Regions from separate parts of the Homo sapiens genome. Here region 1 is linked to region 2. Evidence: promoter capture Hi-C in 16 types of primary human blood cells and fetal thymus (Javierre and others, 2016). All regions are on one chromosome and are shown on one strand. Each heading gives the region's core, a stretch centred on a gene start or on the middle of the fragment in contact. The rest is flanking DNA. Distances are from core to core; before and after follow the strand shown. Region 1 holds the start of CD84-AS1 (CD84 antisense RNA 1). Region 2 holds the start of PIGM (phosphatidylinositol glycan anchor biosynthesis class M).

Region 1 (6,928 bases), core at 1,936-4,435, 510 kb after region 2:
CTTCATTCTTTTGCACGTAGATGTCCAGTTGTCCCAGAACGAATTGTTGAAATGACTGGCCTTTCCCTCATTGAGTGCTTTTAGAGCCCTTGCCAAAGATCGTTTGACTACATATTAAAGGGTTTACTTCTGGGCTCTTGACTCTATTTCATTGGTCTGTATTTGATTACTGTACCTTTGTAGTAAGTTTTGAAATCAGGAAGTATGAGGCCTCTAACTTTCTTCTTTTTTGAGACTATTTTGGCTACTTGGTGTCCGTTTAGATTCAATATGAATTTTAGTATGAGTTTTCCTATTTGTGCAAAAAAATCTTTGGGATGTGATAGGGATTGCATTGAATCTGTAGATTGTATTGCCATCTTAATAATATTAAATCCATGAACACAGGATGTCTTTCCGTTTATGTATGTCTTCTATAATTTCTTTCAGCAATGCCTTAGAGCTTTCAGTGTACAAGTATTCCCCTACTTGGTTAAGTTTATTCCTAAGTATTTTATTCTTTTTGAAGTTATTGTAAATTAAATTGTTTTTCTTATTTTTTGGATTGTTTATTGTGAGTTTATAGAAATGGAACTGATTTTTACAGTTGATTTTGTATCCTGTAACTTTGCTGAATTTTTAATTAGCCCTAAGAGTTTTTGTGTGTGTGCTTGTGTGGATTTTATACACATGAGATTATATTATCTTTAGGATTTTATATATATGAGATTATATTATCCATGAACAGAAATCATTTTGCTTCTTCCTTTCTAATTAAGATGTCTTTTATTTCTTGTTCTTGTCTAATTTTTCTAGCTAGATCTTCTAATGCTACACTGAACACAACTGGTAAAAGTGAGCATCTTGTCTTGTTCCTAATTTTAGGAGAAAAACTTACAGTCTTTCACCATTGTATGTGATGTTAACTGTGGATTTTTAATATATGGGCTTTATTGTGTAAAAAGTTCCCTTGTATTTCTAGCTTGTTGGATAGTTTTTATCATGAAAGAATATTGAACTTTGTCAAATGCCTTTTCTGTGTCAATTAAAATGACCAGTTTTTTTCTTTCATTCTGTTAATGCAATATATTACATTGAATGATTTTTGTATGTTGAACTATCCTTGCATTCCAGGAATACATTTCACTGTCATGTTGTATAATCCTTTTAATATGCTGCTGAATTTTGTTTGCTACTTATTTTGTAAGAATTTTTATATAAATATTTATAAGGAATATTGGTTTGTAGTTTTGTTTACTTTTAGTGTCTTTGTTTGGCTTTCGTATCAGGGTAGTGCTGGTGTCACAGAGTGAATTAGGAAGTGGTCTCTTCTTGTTAAGGACTGAGTGTTTATGCCTCTACAAAATGTATATATTGAAGCTCTAACCCCCAATGTGATGATATTTGGAGATGGGGACTTTGAGAGATAATTAGGTTTGGATGAGGTCATGTGAGTGGGACCCTCATGATGAGATAAGCATACTGATAAGAAAGGAGAGACTAAAGTTCTTGCTCTCTCTCTACCACATGAGGGCGTATTGAGAAGTTGGCCACCTACAAGCCAGGGAGAGTTTCACCAGCAATTGAATCAGCTGGCACCTTGATCTTGGACATCGAAGCCTTCAGAACTGTGAGAAATAAATTTCAATTGTTTAAGCTACCAAGTCTGTGGTATTTTGTCATGGAAGACAGAGTGAATTAATATATTTATCTTCAATGTTTAGAAGAGTTTAAGAAGGATTAGTGTAAAATCTTTTAAAACTCTTTGGTGACCAGTGAAGCCTTCTGATCCAGGACTTCTCCTTGTTGGGAAGTTGTTTTAAAATTATTTACTTAATATTCTTAGTAGTTATAGGTCTAATCAGATTTTCTATTTCTTCATGATTCAGTCTTTGTAAAAATTGTGTCTACTTCATCTATGTTATCCAATTTGTTTGTAGTAGTCTCTTCTATTCATTTCTGAAAAATTGGTTGTAGTGTCCTCATTTTCATTTCCAATTTTAGTAATTTGAGCACTCTGTCTTTTTTTCCATAACCACTCTAACTAAATTTGCCAATTTCGTTGATCCTTTTAAGTAATCAACTTTTTGGTTCATTAATTTTCTCTATTTTATCTCTGGTCTAATCTTTATTATTTTCTTTATTTTGATAGCTTTGGGTTCATAGTAGTGGCACTTTCCCACTTGAGATCTGAATTAAGTGAAATAGAGACCAGTTCTTCATGGACTCCTAAGACAGATTAGAATATTGCAAATAAGATCTGTTATGTTCCCTCCCATTCAAGAGAGGGAACTGAGAAGTGAACTCCTGCCTCCTCTAAACAAGCTTTCTGTTGGGATGAGGAGGGGATGGGGCAAGGGCAAGAAAAATGCCATGGAACTTTTCCTACCATTTCAAAAGTGGCTTTTTCTTCATTGGGCATTTGATTGGTTGTTATAAAACTCTGACTGTTTTCCAGAGTCCCTATAAGGTTAATTCAACCATTTGGGTTTTTTTTTGTTTGTTTGGCTGTTTTTTTATTACTCTAAGTTGGGGGAAAGAGAGAGTTTGGAATTTCCTAGTCCACCACTTTGCTGACATCACTCTCTCTATCTCTATACTTTTACACTGATTTTTAAAAAGATGATAGAAATGTGTTCACATATTTCTTAAGTAACTAAAAATTAGTGACATTATCCAAGATCTTGGTGGATAAATAATATTCTCTCTGAAGAACCAATGCCCCTTAGAAAAATGACTGATTCTAGATGTGAGATAGCCTCTTATATGTATTTCTTGACTCACTTTACTAACAAGGATCTTCAATACAATACAGTTGAAGAGTAGCAGTGATCTTGTATTCACTGAATACAAGAATGGTTACTTGTATTCATTTCTTTATTAAGAATGCCTCTAATGTTTCCAATAAATGTTTGCTACATATGCTGTATCAAGTTGTAAAAGTTTAACCCGAGCCAGTCATTTGCTTATTTGCTCTCAGCTCTATTCCCACCCTTCTGTGTTCCTTGTTTTTCAGAAGGTTAGAAGTCTGCAAACTACATTTATCATTTCCATTGTCAGATGGCTTCTGATTAGATTTTGTCACTGGGTGGTATTGGTTAAAGTTGGATGGAAGGAATAAATTATATATTTTTCCATAATCTTGGTTTCTGGTAATGTTTTCAGTAGTGGCAGTGATAGCAGAAGATGAGTACCGCTTCAGGGTTCCTGGTGTAGCAGTGCAGTTCCAGCAAGCATGTCAGAAGTCTTGCTAGTGTGGTACTGGTGGGATCAGGCTTTGATGGTGGCATCTGCAGTGGTGAGTTATTTTTGTCTCCCAGAGTCTCACAGTTTTGATGAGACTGTGAACTCTTAGAATCTTGAAAGCTGGCAGCACTGATTCCCAAGACAAATTTCCATAGGGACAAAGTTCCATAGCAACTTCCTGGAATTATTAATTGCTTGGTAACCTCAGCTTCCCTGTTTTACTCCTCCATCACTTTTGGAATCAATTCCCTATATTCAGCTTGTTGAGTTTTCAGTATTTAACATGGTCTCAGTTTTTTAAAATTGGATATTGACTAAAACACATTCTATTTTTAGCTTTCTTGAAAACTTTTTAAATCAGTCATGGGTATTCAGTTTTATCAAATATATATTGTAGACTATGTCAGGATGATTATTTTTTTCATCTCCTTTAATCTGTTTGAACAGCAAATTACAATAGATGGTTTCTTAAAGATAAATCATCCTGGCACTCTAAGGATAAAATCCTACTTGGTCGCATTTTTTTTTCTTTTAATGCATTGCTTTAAAATTGACTGAAGTTTAAGATTTTTAACATTTATATTTATAAGTGAGATTGGACTATATCAGGATGTGGCAGACTTTTTCTGTAAAGGTCCCAGTAGTGAATATTGGACTTTGTGGACCATACAATCTCCTTTGCAACTACTCAACTCTGCTGGTGTAGTATGGAAGCAGCCATAATAAACACATAAAAGAATGCGTGTTGGCTGTGTTTCAATAAAACTTTATTTATGGATGCTGAAATTTGAATTTCACATAATTTTAACATGTCCCAAAATATTATTATTCTTTGAATTCTTTTCAACCATTTTAAAAATGTAAACTATTCTTAGTTCGTGGGTCAAATAAAAACAGATGGCAGACTGGATGTGGCCACACGCCATAGTTTGCTAACTCCTGGCCTATGTATCTCTTTGTGGGGGATCATCCTTATCTGGCTTTGGAATCAGTGTTATATTATAGTATTTAATGAATTTGGAAGCTTCCCACTGTTTTCTATGCCTTGGGACAGTTAAGATGACTGGGAATTATCCTTTCATTGTAGGTGATAGGACTAGCCCTTAAGACCATCTAGGCTGGTACACTTTTGGCAATTAGACCACTGAATATCTTTCCATTTTTTTTCAGGTTAAAGAATTTCTTCTAATTATAAACTAACTTTCTCTCTCTCTTTCTTTCTTTCCTTTCCTTTTCTTTTTTTTTTCTTTCTTTTCTTTCTTTTGAGAAAGAGTCTTGCTCTGTTGCCCAGGCTGGAGTGCAGTGGCACCATCTCAGCTCACTGCAACCTCTGCCTCCCGGGTTCAAGCAATTCTCGTGCCTCAGCCTTCCAAGTAGCTGGGACTACAGGTGTGTGCCACCACACCCGGCTTTTTTTTTTTTTTGTTTTTGTACTTTTAGTAGAGACGGGGTTTCACCATGTTGACCAGGCTGGTCTTGAACTCCTGGCCTCAAGTAATCCACCCACCTCAGCCTCCCAATACAGGCGTGAGCCACTGTGCCAGGGCTTAATTATAAATTTTCAACTTATAAGTTATTACATATACAAAGCCTTATACCACAGCAATCCATTGGTCCTTTCTGCCACCAGATGACATTAGCATGGCCAATATAACCATTATTTGTGTTTTGGAAAGATCACTCTGGTTGTGGTGTAGAGAATGGATTGGACTGGGAGCAGGCACGACTGCAAGAGGTCAAGTGCTATTGTCTGGGTAAGAGATGATGGCAACCTGGACTACTGTAGTTAGTGGTGAAAGAGAGGTAGATAGATTGTAGTGACATTCAGGAGTTGTGTTGGGGTTTTCAAGACCACCCCCAGATTCAGTCATTCAGTAGGAGGACTCACAAGACTCAGCATATAGCCATAGTCATGGCCGATTTATTACAGTGAATAAACACAAAGAAAATCAGCAAAGGCAAAAGGGCAAAGTCCAGAGGAAACCAGGTGCAAGCTTCTAGAGTCCTCTCATAGTGGAGTCAAACAGGATGTATGTAATTCCTTCAACAACATGTTGTGTCATGTTTGAAATGTAATCTACCAAAGAAGCTCGATGGAGCCTAGGCATTTAGGGTTTTTCTCTGCAGGCAGTAACGTAGGCACCCTCTACCTAGCATGCACCAAAATTCCAGAATCCAAGAAAGAAAGCAGATATTCAGCAAAAAACAAATTGTTGTGCCAACAATTTAGGTACAGTGTAAGTACCTTATCAGGGAATTCTTATCAGGGAATGGTAGGAACCGTCCCAAAGTCCAAGTTCTCAGACACCAGCCAAGGGCCAACCTTATAAGCATGCCCTTCAAAGGACAGCAGTTTTAGCCCTGCTGTGTTAACTCTTCTGTGTCTCCTGCATAGCAGGTAAAATCAATATTTTCTAGTGCATTTCCAACCAAGGGTTTTATAGAATCTATGAAGGTAATATACTTCAGAAATAAACAGTATACCTGGCTTTGTCGTTGATACATATGCCAAAGGATTGTAACATGCCAGCTAACACAGTTAAAGGCTGATAAGCTATTGCGTCTTCAATAATTAAAGTATTACAAATTGAGGACTACTTGCACTGGGTCAGGCACTGTGGATACAAATGGTGACAAAACCACGCATGATCTGTGTCCTGATGGAACTCACAGTCCAGTGACGGAAGAGAGGAATTAATAAAATAATCACAGGGAGAAATATTTAAAGACAAAATTGAAAACTGCTGTAAAGGCAAGAGGTGTTGTACTATGAGCGCAAAACACGGGCATCAGATATGGCCTGGAGGAACAGGGAAAACTTCCCCCCAGGAAGGGACGCTTGAGCTTATCCCAGAAGAATGAATGGGCATTGTGTGAATGAGTGAAGCTGTGTATTGGAGGTAGTGAGGGTAAGGAGGTGGAGGTAATTTCAAGCTGAAAGTCCTATGGCTAATGTGTAGATGAAATGAAATGAAATGTGCCAAACCTCAGAAAGCACTGGAGAAACACTAGCGAAATTTATCTTCTCAAACGGTTGCTGTATCTGCCTACAGAGTTTCTACACAGGGACTCCGAAATTCTACATGGGTAGCAGTCAATTTCAACCCCACAAGAAGATGTAGGTGGGGAGCTGGAAGACCAGGCTTATCTGCAAACGCTGGCTCAGAACAGAGCAGCTGTGGCCTCTGATAAGCAGGGAATAGAGGAAGTGGTTTTGTCTCAGGCCTAAAAACCATTTGCTATCTCACAGCGCCTGTTAGTAAGTCACCTCCCCTTCAGTGTTTACCAAACATTCAGAGGCCCTGCACCTACAGTTCTGTGGAAACCACAACCTCATTCTCCTCAGTTAAAAGCCCAGTCTTTTTATCCCTTTCCTCCAAGTGGCACTATGGGTGACACAGAGAATTTCTACTCTCCAATTTGGGACTCGGACTCTGAATGTGGTTTCCAGGACTCTCTTTCCTCTTCTGATATGTGGGTGCCAATCCAAATTCAGTTCAACAAATACTTACTAAGCTCTGCTAGGCATTGGCTCCTGTGATAGGGCACTGTGAGTGAAAAATGAATAAGACAAAGCTTCTTCCCTGGAGGGAGATGACCCCCAAAACGTGATTTAAGTCCTCAATTTCCTCTCTCTAGGTTGACCAAGGCAGAACTCTCTTCTCCACCTTAACCAAGCACCTCTGCTGCCCTCCGGGTTTTT
Region 2 (6,338 bases), core at 2,345-4,844:
ATGGGTATGAAACTAAATGTTATAAGGAAGGTCATTGTCCTCAGCAACTGACTCTGCTATTTTTACCCCAAACAGGAGCCCATACAAAACCACCCCATTCTTTCCCTCTTTCTAATGAAAGGTCCCAAAAGGTATCCATCCAAGAAGTGCTGCCAATAATAACATTGTTAATTGTGACCAGCCTATAAACATCTTATTTGCAAAGGATTTTAGGCCTGAACTGACATGAAATATAATACTGTGGAACTTTTTTTGTCTTTTTGTGAGTGTTTTCTGACTGCAAAAGAACAGTTCATCAAATTACTTATCTTTTAAAAAACACAATCACAAAATCATATTCATATACTGCTACTGTAGTATTAGGGAATCCCAAGCCTAGACAGGCTGTTTAATTAAAAAAAAAAATGTAAGGATGCTTGTTTAAACAACTCAGAAAGCATTTTTCCCCCAGAAATATTACAGTGATAAGGGAAACGATCTGACCACCTAAGCCTCAGTTCCACAATCTCCCTCTAAATTCTCTGGTCTAGAAAACCCATGGCTCTCTGGGATGCTTCTTATGCTTTTCAGGAGTTTCCCTCACAGGTCTGCATTTCTATCATGGAATTTTTGATTTTTTTTTTTAAGCTAGGAAATGTCTTACTAACAAGTTGTTTTATCACCTAAAATCTACTATTATCCATTTTTACAACATAGATAACACTTGGTTGACTTAAATTCTAGAAGAAAAAAGTCTTGCTTTAGCAATCAAAAACTTAAAAACAAAGGGGTAAGAGGATACTGAAATGTACTAATAGTTTGTGTAGGACCACAAACATTAAAGGCAAGATGATAGTTTTAAAAATGTAATAACTCAAGTCTAAACATGAATGAATTTAAATTTAATCCTTTTTGTATGAAACCAAATAGCAGTCTAATACCACTGGGACTAAGTGCTATAAAAGTAAGTAATAAAACAAATACATGAAACATGATTACAATTTAAATTCTTTGGATTATCTTTTTTTTTTTTTTTTTTTGATATGGAGTCTTGCTCTGTCGCCCAGGCTGGAGCGCAGTGGTGCCATCTCGGCTCACTACAGGCTCCACCTCCGGAGTTCACGCCATTCTCCTGCCTCAGCCTCCCGAGGAGTAGCTGGGACTACAGGCACCCACCACGCCCGGCTAATTTTTTGTATTTTTAGTAGAGAGGGGTTTCACCGTGTTAGCCAGGATGGTCTCAATCTCCTGACCTCGTGATCTGCCCGCCTTGGCCTCCCAAAGTCTTTGGATTATCTTGTAAGACCCCACATTTAATATAGAAGTTTAAAACTCTCTAAAATAATACTACTAAGCATCTTAGTATTATTTAATACTTTTCTATCTAAAAAGTTGTCCTTTCCTTTTTTTTTTTTTTTTTTTTTTTGAGACAGGGTCTTGCTCTGGGCTCAAGCAATTCTCCCACCTCAGCCTCCCATGCAGCTATGACTACAGGGGTGCACCACAACACCTGGCTAATTTTTTTTTTTTTTTTTGAGACTAGGTCTCACCATCTTGCCCCAGGTGGGTCTAGAACTCCTGAACTCAAGCGACCCTCCCACCTCAGCCTCCCAAAGTGCTGAGACTACAGGCAAGGGCCACCATACACAGTTTAAGAATATTTTTTGGATTTTCACAGCTGTCAGGAAAGCTTTAGAAAGAAAAGATGGGTGTTAAAAGTTAAGACACAGCTTAAGACAGAAGCATTGTAAAACAGGAACAAATACTGGCTTAAACCTGATGTCTCTAACTATATTCCTCTATTTTAAGAATGTTTTAGTATCTGATAGTTTCATCAGCCTTTCCATTTTCCAATATGTGACCTTTATTCCCACCATGTCCCAAATAAACGAGTCCTAGGATTTCCTAGAAGGTGGACCTCAATTATTGTGTCCCTTTTATATATAAGGCAAACATTGCTTTTAAGTTCTGTTGGAACATGGGAACTTTCACTAGAATGCTTAGAATGTTCAGAAAAAATGTCCCAAAGCTCTCTTCTGGTCCATACAAGACAATCAGAATGTAACACAGTAGCAGAGGGTGTGGAACATACACTAGTCATATTTGATTCTCTCTGTCAGGGGTTCTTCTTTGTAATGGGAAATAATTTGAATCAGGATGGAACAATTGATAAGAAGAAAGAACAAACCAGCTAACCAAATAAACAGAAAGGTGTTCTTTCCTTGAAACTCTAGAACATAGGCAGGAGCCAGCCACATGGCCTGCCCTATAAACCATAACATTAGGAGAACTACAGCTCTTTTCCAAGGCATTCTGACTAGTGGCATCACAAGAGGCAGTAAGCAGAGGTACCAAAGAAAGTACTGGGAGGTGCAGACTTTGTTAAAAGTCACAAAAATGGACGTATGAAGAAAACAACAAAAAACGAGGTCTCTGTAATAGGCGAAAGACACAGCTGAAAGCAAGATGAGCTGTGGCAGGAATGCAGCAATTCCCAGGGAAAAACTCCACTTGCTCTCTGCAGTCAAATACAGCATGTAGAAGTACGGAGAAAAGTTGTGACGGATATCCCGCCTAGTCAGGTGATAAAAGTAGGTGTGTTCCAAAAATTCCCAGCCGTACTCATAGTAAAAACCAAAGCTCAGGGCAAAAAACGTGAGTCCAGCAACTGCTACAAACAGCAGCACAGCCCGATTACACAGCCTTTTCAGGAGCTCGTACAAACAAGCCTGGAAAGTGTACCGGAATTGACGGAGGCTTTTGTCATTGTCGCGATCTGGAAGCAGGTGGAGGGTTATGGGAAGGATGTAAGTCACTGGATATATCTTCATATGCACCGCGAAACCATAGAATACAGCTGCACACGCGACGAGTCTTTTCTTTATCAAGTAGAGGACCATCAGGACCAGGGAGGCGACAATAGAGTCCGCATTACCGCGGCTGGATACTGCCATAGGCAGGGGGTTAAGAAGCCAAAAGACACAGTAGCCACAAGCCTGGCGGCGCCCCAGCCCCTTCAGCAGCAGCAGGCGGTATAAGAGGAAAGCGGTGAGGAGGTCGCAGCTGATGAAGAGAAACTTTCCAAAGAGCTCGCTGAGGTAGATGTTGGGAGTGAGGAGCCAACCCAGCAGCGGGGTGTAACGGTACGTGGCTCTCAGGTAAGGCGAGCGCCCCTCCGTGACGAAGCGCGCGGCGTCGGTGAAGACCTGGTAGTCGATGTCCGTATACCTCACGTGCAGGGTCCGGTCCTGGAAGACGCCATAGAAAACCAGGGCGACTCTGGCTAGAAAGGCCACACCAAAGACGCCGGCTGGAGCCACCTTCAAGTTCAGGAGCCATTCGCCCCAGTGCTTGGTGGAGCCCATGATCTGACCGTGCGACAGCTGCTTAGCCCCAGCTCCAAACTGCCTTCGTACTTCTAACCTTCCCTTCGGTTCTTTGCAGCAGGTGGCCGCCGCATCTCCCACCCGCCAGGCTGCCAACCGAAACGACTGCAGACTATCACATCCGGCATGAAGCCCCGCCCCCGTACTGCTACCTGTCTCCAGCCCCGCGCGGTCTTCTCAGCCGCCCGAGCCAAAAACTTGCCTTCCTCTGGATGGACGGTCTCGCTTCCGCTTCTTCTTCCAGCGGAGGCGGGATTTCCGGTCCGTGGGAGGGGAGACGTCCGCTTGCCGGGAAATCCGGCACTGGCTTGAGGATTTTATGGAGTGGAGTGAGATTTCTTTGTAAGTGACAGCCCGCCGCCCCCCGCCCTCTTCCCGCGCCCCATTTCCAGTCCTCAGAGGAAAACCCTCCGACGAGCAGCGAGCTGCGGGCTGCGCGCTACATCCTTCAGTCCTGGGCTGGAGATCCGAGAGTGAAAAATGTAGGAGTGAAAGGAAGATAAGCCTTCTCATGCTTTACTCCACTAGCTCGCCGGTATTCACCGGGGATTTGTGGGCCCCGGACAGGACAGGATGAGTTGAAGGGGGCTGAGTGTGTATGTTCCATGCAATATTGGAGGCATACTTATATTTTTAAATTACTAGTTGGTAATCAGAGATTCAGATTTAAGTGGGCAGCTTGTATTTTATCCGGCAACCCTAGGTGAAGGTGATGGGAAAGAAGACAGGAAAGCGTCACAAAATTCCTTAACTTGTCAGCCCCTTATGCCTCAGTATCTCTGTATTTGCTATTTCTTCTGTCAAAGTTGCCATCCGCTCTCCAATCACTCTGGCAAATACCTACTCAACCCTTCAGGCATCAGTGCAAGTGTTAGCTCCCAGCTCCCACTCACTTCCTCATCACGCAGAATGAATGACTTAGATGCCAGTCCCCTCCCCTGTCCGAGGATAGGTAGACTGGGGCGGACGGGATCTAAGTTCCAGAAAATCACTCACACAGAAGACCCTGCCATGCTACTAAAAGTTCTCCCAGTGCTCCAGAACTCCCTGGTCATTCCTTTGTTACAGCATTTGTCACACTGCTTTGTAATAACTGTTTTTGTTTGTTTTGCTCTCCTAGTTTTCCATCAGGACACTTTCAATTCTTCGGTATCAGAGATTATCTTGTTCTTTTCTCTACCTCAACATCTAACACAGTACTAGTAGCCATTCAGTAAAGTTGAATTGATTTTAGAGGTTCCTCCTACCAGAATATTTCTAGAGTGGCATCTTTGGATTGCTCCCAACTCCCAGTTATTTTCCCTTTTAAATATCCTTTATGTATGTCAAGGTCCCCTGCTCCCCCCACCCCACTCCAACCCTACTTCCATGAATTTCTTGCCAAGGACTGTAACCCATTAGCTCTTCCCTTTCCGTGGTTACTTAGTGCACTTACATAGTCCGCATTGTAGAATTTGATACTTTATTTTAGATTGTATTCATAGCCCTCACAAGAGATTATAGGGTTCTTGGGGGTAGAAATTATATCTTATCCTTAATTTTTTTCAATTATGTGTAATTTATTGTAGTCTTAGGCACATGGTAAATGCTTAGTAAATACTGACTAATTGGATTTTATAGAATAAGCCTGCTTCCTAGGGGAAGTCTTCTAGACTAGAATAAGGAAAAGGAGGTGACTTCATGCAGTCTGAACATGCAGCTCCCAGAACTACCTGCTGCTCATCCATCCTACACTTCAATTTATCCCTTGGAGATGAACTGTGTTAATCTTATATATTCCATATTCATATTGTGATAGCTCTATGTCCTTTTATATGCCTTGGTATCATTACATGCCTTAGATTGATAATTCTAACCATTTTTTTGCAGTATATTAGCCATATATATAGTGGCAGCACATCACCACTCATATAATGATGATTATGATGATGATGATTACTATTATTTATAATAGCTGGATTTGTTGAGGACTCATTTGCAATGTACCAGGCATTATGCTAAGTACTTTTCATGTAAGGTAGATATTCCCACCTTTACAAATGAAGAAAACCAAGGCTTATGGAGATTAAGTAATTTTCCCAAGTCACATAGCTAACTAGTGACAGTGCTAGAACTCAAAACCCAGTCTGTCTGACCTAGAATATCTTAATCATTATGTGGCTGACTTGCCAATAAAATGTTGATCACAAATTCTAATTTTCCTATGTTTTCTCTTATTGATCTCTCATCTTGATATTCTGGATATTCTCTCTCACTGTGACTCTTTCTACCTCTGATTTATTCTTTTCTTCTGCAAATAATAGATAAGTGAGGCTTAGTTCCCTAAGATAGAAAATATGGGAGGTAGGTGTCTGAGGATTAACTAAGTAAGGGTCCTTGTGGCTGGATTGGTTTCAGTAGTATAGCAGAAAGGTTTCAGTCAATCTGTCCCTACATGGCTGTCCTAGTAGAGAGATGGGAGGCACCAAATTTAGGCAGATAAGGAAACAACTAATAAAAAAATAAAATAAAAAAAAAACTAAGCATGTCACTGAAGTCAAAGGAGTGAGATGTAGATAGCAGTTGTGGGAACGAAGAAGAGACTGGAATCTGTAAAACAAATTGGACAGAGAGGTCCAACTTTAGTTACTATTTCTGGGTGGAAGAGATACATCACAGGGTCCGAGGACCCCATATTGAACTTTTTGCATTGGGTTTAGGGATTGTATTTTCTCACCTCTTTCTGAAAGAGTTACATTTTTTTCAAATGCTCAACTGTTCATTACCTCTCGGACTGTTACTTACAATCCTTCTTAATTCCCCCTTTCACTATCTGCTCCTAGATTTCTATCCTTTTAGAGCCAATGACTAAGGAAAGCACAAACATGGATCGCTCAACTTTAGTTTCCCTAGCAGGAACCTTGTCCTTGTTCACTATGCTGCATATACTCTCATTACCCTTCCATATCCACTATTCATCTTTTTTGCCCTGTT

The links. Contacts are between HindIII fragments. The CHiCAGO score rates a contact against its expected background, and 5 or more counts as called.
Region 1: a contact is called between the fragment with the promoter of CD84-AS1 here and the fragment with the promoter of PIGM in region 2, in 9 of 17 cell types (M2 macrophages, monocytes, erythroblasts and 6 more). The highest score is 9.0, in M2 macrophages.

The regions. Positions count from the first base shown.
Region 1 is chr1:160,533,911-160,540,838 of GRCh38, forward strand. CD84-AS1 (CD84 antisense RNA 1) reads left to right here and starts at 3,186. Exons shown (of 2, transcript NR_188634.1): 1 at 3,186-3,277. RefSeq lists enhancers at 6,184-6,273, 6,289-6,583. The HindIII fragment of the contact is 1,945 bases long and covers 2,303-4,247 here.
Region 2 is chr1:160,028,396-160,034,733 of GRCh38, forward strand. PIGM (phosphatidylinositol glycan anchor biosynthesis class M) reads right to left here and starts at 3,595. Exons shown (of 1, transcript NM_145167.3): 1 at 1-3,595. The coding sequence starts at 3,344. The coding sequence ends at 2,073. The HindIII fragment of the contact is 5,226 bases long and covers 1,668-6,338 here.